Linked DNA regions of Homo sapiens: region 2 is linked to region 1. Evidence: promoter capture Hi-C in 16 types of primary human blood cells and fetal thymus (Javierre and others, 2016). All regions are on one chromosome and are shown on one strand. The core of a region is centred on a gene start or on the middle of the fragment in contact, and the rest is flanking DNA. Distances in the headings are between cores, read along the strand shown. Region 1 holds the start of LOC105376548 (a long non-coding RNA gene). Region 2 holds the start of ZBED5 (zinc finger BED-type containing 5).

The links. Contacts are between HindIII fragments. The CHiCAGO score rates a contact against its expected background, and 5 or more counts as called.
Region 2: the fragment with the promoter of ZBED5 here is called in contact with a fragment that was not itself captured in region 1 in 1 of 17 cell types (naive CD4 T cells); the score reaches 5.7 in naive CD4 T cells.

What each region holds. Positions count from the first base shown.
Region 1 is chr11:11,155,226-11,160,043 of GRCh38, reverse strand. The region is part of intron 3 of LINC02752 (long intergenic non-protein coding RNA 2752); the gene reads right to left. LOC105376548 (a long non-coding RNA gene) reads left to right here and starts at 3,483. Exons shown (of 3, transcript XR_007062592.1): 1 at 3,483-3,623. The HindIII fragment of the contact is 1,311 bases long and covers 2,278-3,588 here.
Region 2 is chr11:10,855,976-10,860,793 of GRCh38, reverse strand. ZBED5 (zinc finger BED-type containing 5) reads left to right here and starts at 2,741. Exons shown (of 3, transcript NM_001143667.2): 1 at 2,741-2,932; 2 at 4,537-4,650. ZBED5-AS1 (ZBED5 antisense RNA 1) reads right to left here and starts at 2,577. Exons shown (of 3, transcript NR_034137.1): 1 at 2,428-2,577. RefSeq lists enhancers at 1,269-1,904, 2,306-2,395, 1,905-2,542, 2,696-3,075. The HindIII fragment of the contact is 21,619 bases long and covers 1-3,607 here.

The sequences.
Region 1 (4,818 bases), core at 1,684-4,183:
ACCAAGTCTGTGGCCATGTGTTTCAGCAGCAATAGGAAGCTATTACAGCTGGAACCATGGGATGCCATCATCCTAACTATCCAGGGCTTCTCACAGGGAACCAGAACTATAGTTCATATTCATTCAGGATGCAACTTGAATTCAAGCAAACCCTGCTCCATTGTGTATACCTTGCATTTGCTCTTTCCAAAAGTGAGGATTCGATTGACTTTGTTCATTGTTATGCAATACAGATCATTCTTACTGAATGTCAGGCTAATAGGTTTCACATCAATACAGTTTAGTGGGGACTGGCTTCCCTCTCGTCCAACACAAAGGGCCTGATCCAATCAGCCATGTCCAGGGCAGCAAGGTGGCCGCCAGTTAGCAACCTCCATAGCCCACACACACATACACACACTCATACACACACAAAGCACAAAACTTTACAAAGAAGAATGGGTTTAAGCTATCTGTGGGAGTCACCTGAGGATACCACCCACAACCAGTAGGGTTTAACATGCAGAAGTTTAGCAAACAATCTTGAGGTTTTAAGAGAAGAATGGCCCCTTACTGACCTCCTTATACTAACCTTGATGCTGCAGTGGTAATGAGTTAAAATTGTGAGAAGCTATGAGCTCAAGGCCGGGGGTCCCTTTCTTTGGGCCCTGTGATCATGACCCTACTGGATCCTAATCCCACAGCTACAGGTAGTCATCTTCCATAGGTCAAAAGCAACCACTCCTCCAGCATCTCCTGGGGTGCCCTTGCCCCTGCACATTGGCTTGAAGGAGGGCACAGTATTGCTGCTTGACCAGGAATAATATTTTTAGGAGTTTAAAGAAAATAAAGAGAATCTGTTAAAGGCAGTTTCAGGTTCTGGGCATGAAAAGAGATACAGTGCTTGAGCTTCTGGAAATCAGGAAGGCTTAAAAAGTCAAAGAGATATTTGAATGACTGCCTTTGGGACTGGAAGAAACCCAAACAATTAGAGGCATGAAGGTATAGCACTCAGGGTTTGATAGGTGGAGGTGCATCCCTAAAACCAGGTCTCTGGGCTCACTGGAGCCTGACCTCATTTTCAATTGCTGAAAAAAAATGCACGCGATAAGCTCAGTCTGAAGATGCTTTGACAATTGTTCGAATCAGCCATTTTCCTAGAGGGTTTTGTTTTATTTATAATTATTATATTTTATTTATTTGTGTTTTTCTCTTATGATATGTTACCTTTTGTTTAAATAATTGGGCATCCCAGACCAGATTATCTAGAAATAAACTGGTGCTTTTCTGTGGTATTTCTTTAAAGGCAAGTATATTTTTAACTCGATTTATCTTTTTTGGTACACTCAATGACTTGTCTCAAAACAGCTCCATCAACTTTCTTAACCTAAATCCTTGTTCAAGTTTCCTAGTCCCTATCATTAAATTAAAACCTTTAAAGTATTTTAATTTAAGCCTTATTTGAAAAGATCATACATATCTCATGATTCCCATTAAAAATTAAGTAATTGAAATGCACACATATAAAAAATATGTATGTACATATTATATATTATTATATACATAATATGCCAGAAGGCAGAATTTATCTTCCATGGACTAACATTTTGTCAGAAAAAGAAATTGATAATCTGGTTTCTGGCATAGGCATGTGCAGCCTCCCCCCCCCCACCGCCCGCCCCCATACAGGATCCCTGGGGCAGGCATGGACAATTTCATCTCACATCTCTCTAAGGAATGACAGGTCAGCTCTGTGGCACATGGTCCCCCTCCTGCAAGGTCTGGCCTCCTCATGATGCTCAAGGTCCATTGGGAAGATTCCAGAGTGTGAGTGACTTAGGGGAGAACAGAAAGAAGTCTACAGAAGGTTGGGTAGGAAGAGACCTCAGCACACCAGGCTGCAGCTGAGACAAGGCAGGGCTCCCTGGGCAGCTCTGTCTCCTCCATCTCTATGTAGATCATTTTTCTGCCCCTCGTTTGGTGCACACTCCTGCCAACAGGATCTTGGAGGCAAGCTGGGTAAAGATTAGGCTGCCATGAGACCTGAAGCTGGTGCTCTATGGTGCATGTTTGGGAGAGCCCAGGATCTCCACCTCACACCCAGGCCCTGCTCGCCAGCTGAGGGCAGCTCTGTGATGTGTGATGTCAGTGCTTCTGGGCCGGCGATGGTGTGCTGAGCAGAGCTGCCATAGACACCCACCCCTACACCTGGACATGTCATGCCTACAAACACAGGACCTGGAGAAACCAGGAGCCATTCTCAATCCACCTTGGAGCTCTAACTACCACTGAAAAGCTTTGCTGGGACCCCAAATCATCTGGCTTTAAGGAGCTGTCAGGAAACTCTACAAAGGGCTTAGCTGGCAACTAAGGGATAAATGGCTAATCACAGTTTAAGTGGTGCCCACTTTCTCTCTGCCCCAGTGTATTAACTTCAAAAATCGAAAGAATGGAGGGGCGCTAATGGTGGGGGCAGGGACAGAGAGCCCTGCCCAGTTTCCCCTTAAACCAGAAGGCATCCAGACCCTCATCCAAGATTTCCGTGGCACCGAGAGCCCAGGGATGGTGGACGAGAAGGCATCCAGTCCAGCACGCAAGGCTTCCATGGCACCAAGAGCCCAGGGATGGTGGTTTCAGTGTCTGGTAGAGGAAAGTTGCCTTTATGCACCTTCCAGCAGGGGGCTCCGGGAGCTTCATGCTGTAGAGTAGGGGAGTCAAGGCCCTGTTTTATCTCTGCAGTTGAAACAGTCACAGATGTCTATGTGCTATTTTCAAATGAAGTTCCTCGTGGAAACTGCGCATGTTTTTCTCAATAACCACCCCACTACCACTGCCAAACTAAATGAAGCAACAAGCATCAATTTATATCAATTCAATATTTATACAAACTGTGATTATCTCTTATGGATCCGAAGCTCTGATTGGCAGTTACATATGGTTTTGATGATAAAAGTATGAAAACAAATTTATTATTATCTGCAAATGAAGGGTATATGGCAGATAGGATTTTCCAGAGCATGGAGAAATAACACAAAAGATATCCCTGGTGATGGGAAAGCTGAGAACTCTAAAATAAGAATACTAGGGGCAGGGGTACCAGATCAAGAAAGGTTGTCGGACTGGATTATATTTGTTAAAGAGAAAAGCCATAGAGCATAGTAGAAATGTCGGGATGCAGAAGAGGAGAACTCCGGGCCACGGCCTTGCTATGTGATGGTGGCCAAGTGCCTTGCCTTGGATCTTTCACGGCTGGACCCTGGAGGGGTTGGACTTGCCTGATTCCCCCTCTCAGGGGCAGAGCCGTGGACCCAGCCCAGGGGAGGGGGTTAGGGAATGTGGTGCACACGAGGCCTGGCTAAGCTAGGGCTCAGGACAGGACTTGTGGCAGGAAGGATCCCACGTTGTTAACCCAAGACAGCAGATAGGAGTTGTTGCAGGTCCCTCTTCCGGAAGCACCTCTGAAACGGAAACGGTGTGTGCGGTGTTTATCAGGAAGTGCTCTCAGACTCCACGCCCGTGGGAGTAGTGAGAGGCATAGGATGGGACAGAAGGAGATGCTAAACAGTGATGCAGAAGCAGCGAAGACCTCCGCAATCCTGCAGGGAAGCTTGGGAGCTGGTACGGCCCTGCAGAGATGCACTGAGGTAGGGCGAGGACCCCGGCCCTCTAATCCCCCGCACTGACTCGACATTGGATGCACAGCCCCTGGGAAGGGGATGTGACGGGCGAGGTGGCTCTCGGCATCTGAGAGCAATCCCTGGCGACAGACTCAGCTGAGAGCTCATCTGAGGGCAATCTCTGGAGACAGACTCAGCTCAGAGCTGTCAGCAGCCTGAGGACTGTGTTTCTTCTTGGACGGGTAGGGACCCCAGGGGAACCCGGGCAGCACACCTCACGCCCCCTGCAGGCACAGTGCTGCAACTACAGCCAACCATCCGGAGGGGAGAATTCAGGTGCGAGAGGCCCAGGGAGGAAGCCGAGGGAGACTCCAGGCCCTAGTGAGAAGGCAGCGCACAGCCAGCAAGGCGGACCCACCTAGCTGGGTCCTGCCTGCAGACATCGTAGTCAGCATCTGCGGCCGTGGCGTCAACCAGTAGGAAGCGGATTAGGACCCAACCAGGCTCAGCCAGGCTCCACCACGCTAAGGTTCTGGGCTCTCCCAGCATCTCTGAGGACTGAGGGAGGCCCCAGCCTGGGCAGAGGACACCTCTGAGGTCGTGCAAATAGTTTTCTATGAAGCTCGTCTTCTGCTGCTCTTCCACCCATTGTCCATCAGTCCTTGCCACTTCCTTGTCCTGGGCATCAGCTAGCCTGGAACCCATCAAGGAGGTCAGAAAGGAGTCAGGATCTGTAGTGGAGGCTGGGGAGGTCAACCAATAGTCAGAAGCCTAGGCAGGCCGGGCACAGTGGCTCCCGCCTGTAATCCCAGCACTTTGTGAGGCAGAGGCAGGAGGATCTTTTCAGTCTAGGAGATCGAGACCAGCCTAGGCAACACGGCAAGACCTTGTCTCTACAAAAATCACTTGGGGGTGGTAGTATCCACCTGCGGTCCCAGCTACTCAGGAGGCTGAGGTGGGAGGATCCCCTGAGCCTCGGAGGTCGAGGCTACAGTGGTTCATGATCATGTTACTGCACTCCAGCCTGGGTGACAGAGTGAGACTCTGTCTAAAAAAAGAAGACGACAAAGAAGTCATCTAGGCAGCAGTATGGTAGACTGCAGAGACAGTGAGATTTGGAGGCAGACAGACCTGCCTTCAATGTTCACCTCTGCCACTTTTGGGCTGTGTGACTTTAAGCAAATTGCTATACCTCTCTGAGCCCCATGCTGCCCATTAATCC
Region 2 (4,818 bases), core at 1,492-3,991, 300 kb after region 1:
TCGCTATAAAAAAATACAAAAATTAGCCAGACACGGTGGCATGCACCTGTAGTCCCAGCTACTCAGGAGGCTGAGGTGGAAAGATCATTTGAGCCCGGGAGGTTGAGGTTGCACAGAGCTAAGATCGTGCCACTGCACTCCAGCCTAGGCAACAGAGTGAGACCCTGACTCAAAAAAACAAAAACAAAAACAAAAAAAGCGTATACAATAGCTCCCCGGCCTACATTATGTATTCAATAAATGCTAGCTATGTATTACTGGTCTGAGTTCTACATTGTCTGTATTTTTTCTTATCTGTCCCATCAACATTCTGTAATAATTTGACAAAACGATTACAAAAAAAGTTAAGTTTCATGAACTTTAATTATGAGACACTTCAGATTTGGGGCCCTATATTAATCCATTCTCACACTGCTATAAAGAAATACCGAGACTGGGTAATTTATAAAGGAAAGAGGTTTAATTGACTCAGCTGCACATGCCTGGGCGGCCTCACAAAATTTTCCAATCATGGAGGAAGGGGAAGCAGGCACGTCTTACAGGGCAGGTCTTACATGACGGCAGGTGAGAGAGAGCATGTGAGACCACAGGAAAAACTACCATTTATAAAACCATCAGATCGTGTGAGAATTCACTTAACTATCAGAACAGCATGGGAGAAAACGTCCTCATAATCCAATCACTTTAATCCTTCCATACGTGGGGATTAAAATTCGATATAAGATTTGGGTAGGGACACAGAGTCAAATCATATCAGGACCTAATTCCTAAACTTTAGATGTACTTATTTAAACACTATTCTGCCTAACAGTTTAATATTTTGGGTTTTCCCTCTTCATGAAGATGTAAACAAGATGTGTAAAGATTGGTTTGGGAGCCCATGGCAAGGACAGGAAAATCAAACACATGTTCTCACTCATAGGTGGGAATAGAACAATGAGAACACCTGGACACAGGGTGGGGAACATCACACACCAGGGCCTGTCGTGGGGTGGGGGGAGGGGGGAGGGATAGCCCTAGGAGATATACCTAATGTAAATGACGAGTTAACGAGTGCAGCACACCAACATGGCACATGTATACATATGTAACAAACCTGCAAGTTGTGCACCCTAGAACTTAAAGTATAATAATAAAAAAAATAAAAAATAAAAAAAGATTGGTTTGGGAGCACATATGTAAAAGGTTTTTCTAAAATATGAAACACGAAAATATATTATTCCAATATTATTCTGAAGCCAGACAACTCCCGCAATGACAAAATCCCTTGCTCTTCAAGCGCGACTGTACCCCCTTCCCAAAAACGATTTATGCATTTATGGTTAAAGTTCAAATGAAGCTGATTTAATAGAAATAATTTAAAAATAATAATGAGAATATATGGACAGCTTACTATAGGGTGAGATGATGTTGTAATTGACTTTAAAACATTTGGAACTAAATGTCAGTCCTAGGAAATTATGCACTCCTGTAAATTGTGCTATTAAGGGTTAGGTTTCTTTCAACACTTTAGATATTTGATCAGAAGCATATTTAAGAAAAACGAAAGCTGCCCTTGCTTTTGACCCCAAGTTGAGAATTTTCTATCATTGGTGCAGTGCCTGAAAATACGATCCAATCTTCATTTAGTCATTTGTACGGAGTCTGGAAAGGCTAAAACATTGCAAATAATAGGACCTACTCGTACTTTCCCCGCTTAAGAAGCGTATCTATTTCAAGGTGCCTATTTGGAAAAACAGACTCCAGGTCTCCACCACAGAACTTAACACAAAATGAAAGCACACAACCCGCAGCCTTTGGCTGTGGTGTTTTTGAAAACAAGGAAGGGCACAGAACCATGGCTTAAAATACCCGAAAGCTGCAGCCCACAAAAAGAGTATTTCAGGGCGGGTTGGCCGTTCCCTGCAGGCAAACGTTCGGTGCAGGCGGCCGGGCGTTCCTGCGGGGAGGGCGCCACTGTGATGCAAAGACATCAAGCGGACTTTCAGCTTGCCCGTGGACGCTGCGGTGCCGCTTTCCCTATCCAGTCCTGTTCCCGCGGCTCCCCAGCCTACCCCGGGCCGACCAAGAGGTCCGGCGGGGTCTGCGCCGCATCAGCGCCCGCTCGTCAGGCCTAGCCCTCCGCACAGCCAAGGCCGACCAGACCTCTAGACACTCCGTCGTCGGGTGTGGGGCGGAGAAGTAAAGGGCGAGTTTTCTTCCTAGATTCCAGTGGGAACCAAGAAAAGGAGTTGGCAGCTGTGTAAACTGGACCTGGGGTGCGGCCTCCGGGAACAAAAGAGGTGATAAATGCACAGCAGCCGAGGTTCTGCGTGCTCCTTTGGGGCCACTACGAATCCCCGTGAATCACCCCAGCCCGGGCAGAGGGCCAGAAATGATGAAAATGCAGATTCATGGCTTCCACTCCAGCCCTACAAGATCACCAACCGTATCTGGCAGTACCCAGGAATCTGCATTCTCGACAAGCGTCCGCGCCGACGGGGCTAGTGAAGTTTGAGAACAATTGCTTCCTACCCAGCCGCTCCGCTATCACCTAGGTAGCACGGCCGCTGCGGCTGAGGCTGTGACTGCGGCTGCGGCTGGGCCGCGCCTCAACCGAGCTTGGTCCTTTCCTTTGGTCCCGCCCCGCTGCTCAGCGCGGATTGGTGGCGGGACGCAAATCTGGCGCTGATTGGGCGGCGGCAGAGTCGCTCGTGAAGATTGTAGGGTTCGGGTGCTCTAGAGTGCTAAATTTATCTTCAGACCGGCGACCGCGCCAGCCGCGAATCGGATCTCTATGGAGATGGCCTAGGCGATATCCCTGAGCTGAGAGCATCACCCTGTCCCCGAATCCTTCTTTCCTCTCTGTTTTGTTTTTCATTCCCCTCCCTCTCTCCCCTCCCCCTCCAGTCCACGACGACTGGCTGTTGACCCTGTTCAGGCCTCGGTGAAGGTGAGAAGCAGAGCCGCCGCCGCGGCTAAGCGGTGCGCTCTGAAATGGCCGCTTCCTGGAACTGCCTAAGATGGCGGTCGCGGGCTCTGCTGTGGACCGCGGCGCTGCTGTGCAGCCCAGCCGCGGCAAAATCCGTTCTCTCCATCGCTGATGGAGATGAAATAGAGAGATGGTGTTGGGTGCTGAGACGTTTTCATGTGGTCGTTAGCGCAGGCGGCCGCCCGGGGACGCGAGAGAAGACCTGAGGCGAGGGTGGGCTGCGACTGGTAGGGAGCCCCCCAGTCGTGGCAATCTGTGGGCAGCGCGCACCTGTGACAGGGAGGAGCTGAGGGATAGTTGGCCCTGGCTGCACATCCAGGTGACCGTTTAAAAAAGCATTTAGGTGTTGGAAGGAGCATCTGTTCCCACCTTTTTGGCTGGCCTGCACTCAGATCCTGTCCTCCTGACCCTGAGGGTATTGTTCCCAGCCGGAACCGCCCGAAGATAGGGGAGAAAGGATTGTGATACTTGTCAGTTTAACCGGAAGGAGACTAAAGACGGAAGTTTTCCCCGCTCTTCAGGGAGTGGAAAGGAAACTTTACTCTCAAAGGAGTCCAGATTCTTTGTCCTCGAGAAATTCGGGGAAACACCTTCGAAGAGGTGGGGTTGAGGACCTTCTTTCTGAAAACAAAAGCTTCCTACTCTTCTGTGTCCTCTGGCAACGAGAGGGATCCTGATCTTTTACGTGAACCAGCAGCTCCACAGAGTTCTCCGTTGCAAAATCCAAAAGGAGACTGTGGAAGGAGAATCTGCTTTTTTGCTCCCAATAAGAAGCAGGGCTTTATGCTGTTGCTAGTATGAGACCCTCGACTTTCTGGCAGTTATAATCCATTGTTCATCCGTTTCGCTGCATAACCCAACTCCTAGTAACGAGATTTTTTAGTAGTTGGGGAATTAAAAGTATTCAGGAACACCCAAGTAATGGCTAGACACATGGGCTATGCAGTCAAACTTTTTGGGCTCTGAACTTGGTTTTTCACTTACAAGAGGTGTTAGCGAGATGTGTTAACCTGTGTCTGTTTATCTCTAAAGTGGGGTTATTAATAATCCTTGTGTCTTCATAGATGAGATAATCTATATGAGGGATTTAGCAGTAATTGGCATACAGTAAACAATCATCAGTCATTAGACATTGTTTACCTGAGGAGATTGGTCACTGGGGGGCTAAAAATGATTGTAGTGAAAGAACTGCTTCATGTAATAGTTCTATGTATAATTCCATTTTAGATTCAAGACCTAGTTTTAGAGACATTGATGAGGTTGTACTTTTAAAAATTAGGCTTAGTTTCAAGTTCTAGAAAGTGTGGTGGTGGTGTTGTTTTAACATGTTTCTATGAAGTCAGTAGGTGGGGGAACATCTCAAAGCATCTAAATTGCCAAGATATTGAACAGGATGAAAATGTTAGAATTTTTACTATGCTAGGCGTCTTCTCTTTCAGTCCAAGATCTGCATTGCAGTAAAGAATCATTTTCACTGCTTAGATCCAGAAAGAATAAACCCATCTTACGGGTTTATAGTTAGTTCTGCTTGTTACTGTATCTAATTTTAATTTTTCTCATTCTAGGCTTTTGGTTACTCCCCTTCCCACCCCATCCCTTAATTTTATTCTTTTGAAGAGTGCATTTCAAGCTGCCAAGGTGGAGAGAGGGATTACAGAAAGGAGAACACCTTATTTCAGGTATCTTATCCTCTACCCCTTAATAGGAGAACCATTTTGACTCAAGATCTAACATGAGAATACAAAACTTACTCTATAGCCAGGTTATAAAGTTTAAATCAAAAGTAGCTATATTTGGACAGACATAATTTGTATGCCTTGATTTATAGAGTTAATAGTATTCTTTAG